Linked DNA regions of Homo sapiens: regions 2 and 3 are each linked to region 1. Evidence: promoter capture Hi-C in human tissues and cell types (Jung and others, 2019). All regions are on one chromosome and are shown on one strand. Each heading gives the region's core, a stretch centred on a gene start or on the middle of the fragment in contact. The rest is flanking DNA. Distances are from core to core; before and after follow the strand shown. Region 1 holds the start of ZNF230 (zinc finger protein 230). Region 2 has its middle 5.0 kb from the start of ZNF112. Region 3 holds the start of PLAUR (plasminogen activator, urokinase receptor).

The links. The method cuts DNA at HindIII sites, captures the fragments that hold promoters and counts their contacts. A contact is called where the count stands out against the background at its distance.
Region 2: a contact is called between a fragment that was not itself captured here and the fragment with the promoter of ZNF230 in region 1, in 1 of the 25 tissues and cell types used here (stomach).
Region 3: the fragment with the promoter of PLAUR here is called in contact with the fragment with the promoter of ZNF230 in region 1 in 1 of the 25 tissues and cell types used here (IMR-90 fibroblasts).

What each region holds. Positions count from the first base shown.
Region 1 is chr19:44,001,409-44,005,040 of GRCh38, reverse strand. ZNF230 (zinc finger protein 230) reads right to left here and starts at 2,084. Exons shown (of 5, transcript NM_006300.4): 1 at 1,934-2,084. It overlaps ZNF230-DT (ZNF230 divergent transcript), which reads left to right and starts at 2,171. Exons shown (of 3, transcript NR_110727.1): 1 at 2,171-2,776. RefSeq lists an enhancer at 1,812-2,321. The HindIII fragment of the contact is 9,118 bases long and covers 1,317-3,632 here.
Region 2 is chr19:44,359,856-44,363,487 of GRCh38, reverse strand. It overlaps a transcript of ZNF112 not described here. Among named protein-coding and RNA genes, the nearest start is that of ZNF112, 5.0 kb to the right of the region's middle. The HindIII fragment of the contact is 6,327 bases long and covers 1-3,632 here.
Region 3 is chr19:43,668,478-43,672,109 of GRCh38, reverse strand. PLAUR (plasminogen activator, urokinase receptor) reads left to right here and starts at 1,941. Exons shown (of 7, transcript NM_002659.4): 1 at 1,941-2,044. The coding sequence starts at 1,990. LOC124904724 (a long non-coding RNA gene) reads right to left here and starts at 3,346. Exons shown (of 3, transcript XR_007067264.1): 1 at 2,927-3,346; 2 at 1,630-2,084. RefSeq lists an enhancer at 1,873-2,172 and silencers at 3,093-3,172, 3,213-3,442. The HindIII fragment of the contact is 20,050 bases long and covers 1-3,632 here.

The sequences.
Region 1 (3,632 bases), core at 835-3,334:
CGCCTTTCTCCTGCCTCAGCCTCTGGAGTAGCTGGGACCACAACTGCCTGCCACCATGCCCAGCTAATTTTTTGTATTTTTTTTTTTAGTAGAGATGGGGTTTCACCATGTTGGCCAGGATGGTCTCGATCTCCTGACCTCGTGATCCACCCGCCTCGGCCTCCCAAAGTGCTGGGATTACAGGCGTGAGCCACCGCGCCCAGCAAAAATATTTTAGATATCAGGAAATAGTCATAAGGATAATGGGAATAATAAAATTGAGCATTATATAATATGGCAGTTCACTAGTTTATTCTTTTTTTTTTTTTTTTTTTTGAGTCTCACTCTGTTGCCCAGGCTGGAGTGCAGTGGCGTGATCTTGGCTCACTGCAACCTCCACCTCCCGGGTTTAAGCAATTCTCCTGCCTCAGCCTCTAGAGTAGCTGGGACTACAGGCACGTGCCATCACGCCCGGCTAATATTTGTATTTTTGGTAGAGATGGGGTTTCACCATGTTGGCCAGGCTGGTCTCAAACTACTGACCTCAAGTGATCCACCTGCCTTGGCCTCCCAAAGTGCTGGGATTATAGGCATGAGCCACCACAACCAGCCTCACTAGTTTAGTCTCTATTAGCAATATTTAAAATTTTCTATAGTTAAAAGACATATGGGAAAACACATTAAAATATAACAATTTTTAAAAAAATGTTTATCAACAAATATAGAAGTAGACACAAAGAAAGACAAAAGAAATCAATTAGAAGCTTAACAGTTACTACCTTTACATCTTGGATACATGGGTAATTAAAAAACTTTTTCTACTCTCATTTCTCCTATTTCAGACTTTTCCACAATGATACAGTTCCACAACAGTACGAAATACTTGGAAAACATGAAACAAAATAGTTGAGAAATTTTTAAAAATTCCTAGACGTCCAAGCCCACGAGCCTTGCTCTCAACGTCCTTTCAATCAGGTCCTAACTTGCTTTCCCTACGAGTCCAGCTAGTTCCTCTGCCTCAATGAGAATGTATCCAAGAGGTGATCAACTCAGGCTCTGACCTGGACTGCCTAGGTGCCAACCCCAGCTCTACCTCTCACTAGTTGGCTGCTATGCACCCTGTGTCTCACTCTCATTTTTAAAACAAAGAAAAGCAATACTTCACAGAGCCACAGTGTGGCCTAAATTTATTTGTATAAAGCACTTAGAATGAAGTTACCAATTACGGCTTAATGATTATCAACACCCATTCCCGAGGACACACTCTCGGTTGGGTGAACATCTCTATAAAGGAAAAAAGCCAAGGACCAATCACATAGAGATTTGCCCTCAGTAGCCAAGAAGTCCCCTCCCTGCAGCTCTTTTAGAAAGGTCAGGCTGGGGAAGGCGAAAGTTGTGAAATACCCTGACTGCATCGCGGTCCCCCATAAAAGTTAAATGCTCCCCGCCCTTCGTGGAAGCGGACGCAACTCGCTTTCCTAAAAAGAGGTCAGAAGGCCTCCCGGGATCATCCAGCGTCCTGCAGGGATTAGGGAGAAGGACCAGGGCCCCTGCAGCTGAAGCTATGACTCCACCCGGGGACCTGACCTCTTCGGGAAGTTAACAAGAGACCACCAGTCACCAAGTGACAGGGACTGCTTTAAGGTTCTCATTTGCGTTATCTCTTTCAGTTCCCAAAAACGATTCTACTAGGATGGTTCTAATGTCCCCATTACCAAAAACAGCAATGGAAAGTATAAGGACATTGAGTAACACTCCACGTCACACTGCGAGAAAGCGGTCGCACAGGTAGGGTGGAGAGAGGCAGGCTGAGCGAGGTCAAAGTCCTGGAAACGCTCACAGCAGGGCACAGAGGACCCCGCCAATTCCAACCCCCGGGATGCGAGCACAGCACCCCCATCCCAGAAAGCTTCCGTGGACGGGAAAAAAACCCCATTCCCCGCCCCCACCAAACCTCCGCTCTCCGCCAAGGCTTCTTTTCCCTTGCTTGGATCATCGATCATCGGGTCGTTGCGACCCCAAGCGAAGGTGACAAGTTCAGAAGGACCCGCCAGACGCAGAAATGGCTCAAACTACGCGGTTATGTAGCAACCGCAGGCTCACACACCGGAAGTGCTCGCGTCTCCACAGAGCGTCTGGACTCCACTTCCCAGAATTCCCCGGTTCAACTGCTTGAGCCAAAGGGTCCGCCATTCCATGAAGTTGATGGACTACAGTTCCCAGAATTCACTCGTCCACCCGCCTGAGCCAACTTGCCCGCGACTCAGAGTGTGTCTGGACTCCGCTTCCTCCAATGCCAAAGGAAAATGTCTATAATCTCACTCTTCAGCGGGAAGCGTTGGACTCCGCGGTGGTCCTTGACTACACACACCGCAGTGCCCACCGGGAACGTATTCCATATCTCTGAGCGCCTGGTGGGGAATGTGGACTGTGACCCTGTGAGTCGTCCGTCTCTCTTCCTGAGTCTTTGAGCGAAAATAGTGTATAGACAGGAATTCCTGAAGTCTAAACGCCTCCCACGATGACAGGAGTGTTATTGGGAAGAGAACAAACGAGGAGATAAAATCTTCAAGGATTAGGATAATCTGACGATGGGAGGTTAAAACTAACGGTTTAAAGGATGAGCCAGGTGGAATGGTTTGGCAGGGGCAATGAGGAGCAGGAAGACACCAGCCCCTACTCCAGAAGCTGTGGGACCACTGGTTTGGCAGGAAAAGCCACCCCCATTTAAGATCACAGCTACTAGTGGAGAAGCGGTGTCGTCATGGAATAGCTATCTTCCCATAAACTTTTCATGGTATTCATATTTCTCCTTAGATGTAGAAACATCAAATTTCAGCGAATGTAGTGAATTGCTCAGTACCTCAGAGCAATAATGACTGATGAAGAGCTAGGCATTGGTATCAATCTTACATTGAGATTGTAAATGCAGTAAAACGGGAGGATTCTATAGGTGAAGGAGCATGTCTTATAAAGAGTTTTCTTCCTGGCCAAGCGCAGTGGCTCAAACCTGTAATGCCAACCCTTTGGGAGGCCAGGGCAGGACGTTCCCTTGAGCTCAGGAATTGGAGACCAGACAGGGAAATACAGGGAGACTTCGTCTCTATAAAAATTTTTTTTTAACTGGCCAGGCATGGTGGCCTGATCTTGGGACTACAAGTTCCAAGTACTCAGGAGGCTGAGGTGGGAGGATTGCTGAAGCCCAGGAGTTTGATTGAGGCTGCAGTGAGCTATGATGCCACCACTGCCCTCCAGCCTAGGCAACAGATACCTCAATAATTAAAGATTTTTTTTTTTAAGTTTCTTCTTATTTCTTGGTGAAACATAATTTCTTTATTATAGTTAGCAATTTAAAAACTGGCATTGGTTAAAAAATAATAACAGTATAAAGCTAAATTAGGAAACAATTCATCTAAAAACCTGCTCTTTTGAAGGTAACTTTTTTTCTCCCTATAAACATACATTGGCCTATAAACCAATATTCTTCTTTTTAAAAAAAATGGAGTCTACTGTTTACCTATTTTTCTAAACTAAAAACTTTTCAAAATTTTGTTTAGACACAAAAATAAGGTGACTGTGCCAAACTTTTGATGCCAAACATCCGCTCTCTGAAAATTGAGTGATCACTATTCATATGCCAGTTATAGCTGTAT
Region 2 (3,632 bases), core at 819-3,318, 360 kb before region 1:
AGAACAGTGGTTGCCACTGGGGGAAGGGGTTAGAGACTGACTGGAAAGTGTCATGAGGGAATTTGTGGGGTAATGTTAATGTTCTGATGGATAAGTAATAAGATAGCTAGATAGATGGCTAAGACATAAATGTTGCTAATTTTAGTATCTAAGCTGAGAATATATGGGTGACTACTGTATAATTCTTCCAACTCTTCTTTATGTTATAAAATTTCAGGGCTAGGCACAGTGGCTCATGCCTACAATGCCAGCACTTTAGGAGGCCAAGGTGGGAGGATCACTTGAGGCCAGGAGTTTGAGACCAGCCTGGGCAACATAGTGGGACCCCATCTTTGCAAAAAAAAAAAAAAATTAGCCATGTGTGATTGGGCACAACTATAGTCCCAGCTACTTTGGAGGCTGAGGTGGGAAGATGGCTTGAGCCCAGTTGGTCAAGGCTGCAGTGAACTGTGATCATACCACTGCACTCTAGCCTAGGTGACAAGGTAAGACCCTGTCTTCAAAAAAAATTTTTTTTAGTAAAATATTGAGAAAAACAGTTTTGAGTGAAAATTTTTAACAGAGTTTTATAACACAAGATATATATATATGCATCCGAAATTCCACACATTTTGCCAGAAAGACATACCAACAACAGGCACACATTAAACAGATCGACCTGGTTACTGATGCGGCAGGGGAGAAAATGAGAGTGGGTAGTGGGGGATATAATGGAACAAATAAATAATATCTGTTTCTTTTTTTCTTTTTCTTTTTAATATGTGTGCCCTCAAACATTCTCCTATTCAAATAAATGATATTTTCACATTCACATTTTATCCAGCATTTCTATGTAAATAAACTAGGAAGACGGTCTGTGGACGCTTTATCTGTGTTGTTGTCAAAGGCCTGTAATATGTCTTGAAGAATATTTTCCGGAAAGAATTTAGAAGTGATTCACAACTGAATCTTGTATGCCAAGAATAGTGCACATGAACAAAACATTCTCTGACCATAGAAGGATCAATCTTTTCACCTCAAAAATCCCATAGATTATTTTTATATTTTATTAGTACTTTTAATGTTGCAGACAATAATTAAAATGCAAAGCTTATTTTTTCATTCCTTTGAAATTGACTCAATTCTTTAGTCTTCAGCCTTGCCATTAAAAAATTTCTCAATGTCTGCAAGTGCATCTCTACGAGTCTCTTCCTCCTTTTTCTCTTACTCTTCCTCCTCCTACTTCTCCTCCTCCTACATACCCTCACCTTCCTCCCCCTTCTCCTCCATCTTCTTCTCCTCCTTCCAATATGAGATTTTGCCCATGTGGATAAATTGTTTATTCTTTCTTAATGATTTATTTATTACAATCTGCTTCCTTCTCTAATCCTCATTTTTTCTCATTAGCTTATAAGATACACCTGATCAGTATGTTCATATTCATTATAGAGTTTCTCATTATTTTTAGCCCTTCCCTCTAAGTTCTGAAAAAGTTCTATGCCATATATTCAGTTTCCTTTGAAACATATCATTGATTTTTTAAAATAGACTTTATTTTAAGAGCAGTTTTAGGGTTACAGAAAACTGCTCAGAAAAACTGAGAAAGTATTAATATTTCCCATATACTCTCCTTTCCCCTGCCCAGTTTCTCCTATTGTTTGCATCTTGCATGTGTGTGGCATATTTATTACAACTAATGAACCAATTTTGATACATTATTATTAAAGTCTGTGGTTTACATTAGGGCTTACTCTTTGTGTTGTACATTCCATGGGTTTTGACAAAGCATAATGTCCTATATCAACCATACTGTATCACACAGAATAGTGTCACTGCTTAAAAATACCCTGTGCTCTATCAATTAATCTCCCTGAACCTCTAACAACCACTGATCACTTTACTGACCTTTAGTTTTGCCTTTTCCAGATTATCATATAGTTGAATTACAGTACGTAGCTTTGACAGACTGGCTGCTTTCCATTAACAATATGAATTTAAGGTTATTCCATGTGTTTTCATAACTTCATATCTCATTTCTTTTTATGGCTGAATAATACTCTATTGTATTGATGCACCACAGTTTGTTGGTCATATATCATTGATTTTACAGATTGAAATATCACTCACATTCAGAAAAGTGTCTGAATCATAAATATACATGTGAAAGTATGAATATAAAATGAACAGCTGTATAATCACCACCCACAACAAAAATTGAAGCATGGTAGAATTGCAAACACCCCACTCTCACAGCATCATGATGCTTTCTTCCCCATAAAAAGAAACCACTACCCTAAGTTTTAAGATTCCCTTGCTTTTCTTCATATTTTTACTATTTAAGTGTCCAAAATCATCCTATTGATGAATTTTGCATGTCTAATGAACTTCGTACAAGTGGAATCACACTGCATCTACTGGGTTTGTCTAGTTATTTTGCTCAACATATTTATGGGAGTCATCATGGTATTGCATGTACAGCTAAAGTTTGTTCAATGTCCTTGCTTTTACCTTGTGTAAATAACAAAAATATTTATCCATACTATCATCGATAGACATCTGGAGTATTCTCAGCATGTCATTGTGATGAATGATCCTGCTATGAACATTCTTATATGTGTATTTTGGTACACATTTCTTATAGGTTTATACACTGAGTAGATTTAAGTGTCATAAGAAATGCTTTTCAAATCGGGCTCTACAATCCACCAGCCTTAGATTGTTGCATATAGTGGGAGGTATAGGTCAATTTCAGTTTTATTTCACAATACTCAATTTAACAGCAACATGTATTGAATATTTTCCCTGTTCCCATGTTGCTGCAGCGCCCCATTTGTTGCAGATCTGAAGTCAACATGAGCATGCATATAAAATTCAAAAGATCTACACATAAAATATTAAAATTAATTAGATTAGTTGGCAAGATTGCAGGATAAAGGAGCAAATGTGGTATTTAGTAGAAATGATTGGGGTGGACATCATTATTTTGTTCCCCATCATAGAGGAAATGTTTTCAATATTTCACTATTCCTTTTGATATTTGTTGCCATTTTTGTAGATCTTTACTATTGCTTAGTTGCCTAAATTTTCTTATGATAAATGGGTGATTAATCAAACTTTTTTTTTCTCTGATACCTAGGTTGCCCTTTTATATATCATTGGCAACATTTTGTTTAGCATTTTTGAAAGTATATTTATGACGAGATAGACCTGTCATTTTCTTTTTCTTTCTTTTTTCTTTTCTTTTTTTTTTTCTTGAGATGGAGTCTCCTCTGTCACCCAGGCTGGAGTGCAGTGGCACGATCTCAGCTCACTGCAATCTCCATCTCCCAGGTTCAAGCGATTCTCCCACCTCAGCCTCCCAAATAACTGGGAATACAGGCACGTGCCACCATGCCCGGCTTTTTTTTTGTATTTTTAGTAGAAACGGGGTTTCACTGTGTTAGCCAGAATGGTCTGGATCTCCTGATCTCATGATCTGCTTGCCTTAGCCCCACAAAGTGCTGGGATTACAGGCATGAGCCACCGTGCCTGGCCAGACCTGTCATTTTCCATTCTAATGAAGCCTCTCACAAATTTTGTCAGTGTTATTACAGTGGCCTCATAAAGTTAGTTGGAAAGTGTTTCCTATTTTGTTATTCTCAGGAATAATTTTG
Region 3 (3,632 bases), core at 692-3,191, 330 kb after region 1:
TGTTGAGCCCTCCATTTCGGCCAGCAGCTATTCCAGGCATTGCACCTACATTAAATTGCTCTGTTTAGTTAGATGCATCCTAAGACGGGGAGACAATTTTATCTTTAGTATTTTATTTTACTTAAAAAAAAAAAAAACTTGGCCAGGTGCAGTGGCTCATGCCTGTAATCCCAGCACTTTGGAAGGACAAGGCAGGTGGATCACCTGAGGTCAGGAGTTCGAGACCACCCTGACCAACATGGTGAAACCCCATCTCTACTAAAAATACAAAAATTAGCCGGGTGTGCTGGCGTGCCCCTGTAATCCCAGTTACTCAGGAGGCTGAGGCAGGAGAATTGCATGAACCCAGGAGGCGGAGATTGCAGTGGCCGAGATTGCACCACTGCACTCTAGCCTGGGTGACAGAGTGAGACTTCGTCTCAATAAATAAATAAATAAATAATAAAAAGAAAGAAAAAACTTATTATAAGCCTTTTCAAACCCACAGAAAAGGAGACAGAATGGCATAATATGCCCTTATATACTGATTACCTTTATATAATTGATACAACCATTTGGCTATTTTGCCTTTATTTTCTACTCAAGTATTTATTTATTTATTATTTTTTTGAGACAGGGTCTCGCTCTGTTGCCCAGGTTGGAGTGCAGTGGTGCAATCATAGCTCACTGCAGCTTCCAGTTCCCAGGTTCAAGCGGTCCTCCCACCTTAGCCTCCCAACTACCTAGGACTACAAGTACGGGCCACTGCACCCAGCTAATTTTATTTTATTTTTAATTTCTTTTGGAAAGATGAGGGCTCTTTATGTTTCCCAAGCTGATCTTGAACTCCTGGCCCCAAGTGATCCTCCTGCCTTGGCTTCCCAAAGCATTGGTGTTACAGGCATGAGCCACCTCATCTGACCTCTTCTAAAATATTATAAAATAAATACAGACATCAAAATGAAAACAAAAGAAAAAGAAAAAACAAAACAAAAATCCCCAAAACAACAACAACAAAAAATGCAGACATCAATAACATTCACCACTAAATACTCTAGTAAGCATCTGCAAAAACAAACAAACAAACAAAAACCAGAATCCCACCTAAGCATACAGCCATTGTCGTAACAGTGATATCTACTTTTTTGGCTGAAGTGTCTTTTTTTTTTTTTTTTTTTTTTTCTGTGAGAAGGAGTCTTGTTCTGTTGCCAGGCTGGAGTGCAGTGGCACGATCTCGGCTCACTGCAACCCAACCTCCGCCTCCCGGGTTCAAGCGATTCTCCTGCCTCAGCCTCCTAAGTAACACACACACGCCACTACGCCCGGCTAATTTTTGTATTTTTAGTAGAGACGGGGTTTCACCATTAAGTGTTTTAATGTAGGTGCAATGCCTGGAATAGCTGCTGGCCAAAATGGAGGGCTCAACACATTCCTTTAACATTTACCAAGGACCTACTTCGTGCTGGGCACTGGTCCAGGAGCTGGGGGCACAGCGGGAAGCAAAGCAAGGGTTAAGTGTTTTAAGTGTTTAAGAGATGCATATTTCAGGATGCATCTCTAGATAAGGACATTTTCCAAAATACCAGTATCCCTCCTGACAAAACTAACAAAAATCCTGTTAGCCAAATAATCAGCCACATTCATATTTACCGTCAAAGTTTTTATCCTCATTTTACAGCAGTGGAGAGCGATTGCCCCGGGTCCCACGTTAGGAAGAGAGAGAACTGGGATTTGCACCCAGGCAATCTGGGGACAGAGCTGTGATCACAACTCCATGAGTCAGGGCCGAGCCAGCCCCTTCACCACCAGCCGGCCGCGCCCCGGGAAGGGAAGTTTGTGGCGGAGGAGGTTCGTACGGGAGGAGGGGGAGGCGCCCACGCATCTGGGGCTGACTCGCTCTTTCGCAAAACGTCTGGGAGGAGTCCCTGGGGCCACAAAACTGCCTCCTTCCTGAGGCCAGAAGGAGAGAAGACGTGCAGGGACCCCGCGCACAGGAGCTGCCCTCGCGACATGGGTCACCCGCCGCTGCTGCCGCTGCTGCTGCTGCTCCACACCTGCGTCCCAGGTAGGGGCTGGGTCCCGAACGCCTGCGCCTGGAACAGGGTCTAATTGAGGGGGTTGGGGGTTGTCAGAGGATGAGTTGGAGGAATGCGGTTCAGTCCTCAGCATCCTCCCTAATCAAATAATAGTAATTCTCGTGCTTTGTGCAACGCCACGCGGCGCAGTACCTGGCACTCAGTAGCTAAGGAAATATTAGTGGAGCAAAGGCATTTAGCTTTACATAATTTAGTGAGTGCTTTTTTTTTTTTTTTTTTTTTTTTGACAGAGTCTCACTCTGTCGCCCAGGCTGGAGTGCAGTGGCGCGATCTCGGCTCACTGCAACCTCTGCCGCCCGGGTTCAAGCGATTCTCCTGCCTCAGCCTCCTGGGTAGCTGGGATTACAGGCGCCTGCCATCGCGCCCGGCTAATTTCTGTATTTTTAGTGGAGACCGGGTTTCACTCTGTTAGCCAGGATGGTCTCAATCTCCTGACCTCAGATGATCCACCTGCCTCGGCCTCCCAAACTGCTGGGATTACAGGCGTGAGCCACCGCGCCCGGCCCAAGTGTTCTTTTTTTAAATGGAGTTCTTCGAAGCCTCTTCCTTGCAATTTCAAACTAGGCGATGGGACTTTATTAATTTCGTTTCGCAGAGGAAACTAGGGCACAGAGAGGTTAGATAACTGGCCTAAAATCACACAGCCAGTGCTTGAATACGCAGGATCTGACCCTGCAGCGCCCCCCAGCGCTCTCCACGCTGCTGGGTCTCCCCCTCTGAGAAACGGGGGGACAGGACCCCCTTTTACAAAAGGCCCAAAGGGAGGCTGACTGAGCGGCGCAGAGCCAGTGCTGGAGACCCGGGACTGTCCCTCAGGACCTTTCCCTCTCACTGAGGCGACTCTCACTTACTTCCCCGGAAAATGTGGGGGGCTCTGGGTCGAGGAATTCGAGAAGGAACTGAGTCAGGGCGGGTGGCCACAGGGTGTTGGGGCCGCGATGAATAACCCGGAAAGCGCTCGAGACCGCGGGAGGCCGGGAATGAGTAACAGCTCCGGGATACTCCGAACGCGCAGCTGGAAAGGGATGTCCGGGAAGGCCCGGAGGTCGGGGACCGGGCCTAGGGACTGGGCTGCAATCTCGGGGCGGAGCCTGGGGCGGGGAGAGAGTGTCGGGGAGGAGCCAGAGGGCGGGGCTGGAACCTCAAGGAAGAGCTACGGGAGAGGTTACAGACCGAGGAAGAGCTAGGAGCGGGGCTAGAACCTCGAGGCGGAGCCAGAGGGCGGGGTTATAACCTCGAGGCGTAACCAGAGGGCGGAGTTATAACCTCGGGAGGAGCTAGAAGGTGGGACTAGACTCTTGAGGGGCAGGATTATAACCTCGGGGAGGAGCTAGAGGGCGGGGCTGGAACCTCAAGGAGGGGCTAGGGGCGGGGTTATAAGCTTGGGGAGGAGCTACGGGGCTGGGCTAGGACCTCAAGGGGCCAAGGGGCGGGGGTTACGACCTCGGGGAGGAGCTACAGGGTGGGGCTGAAACCTCAAGAAGGGACTGGGGCGGAGTTATGACCTCAGGGGAAAACTAGGGGCGGGGAGAGCTAAAGGGCGAAGTTAGAATCTCA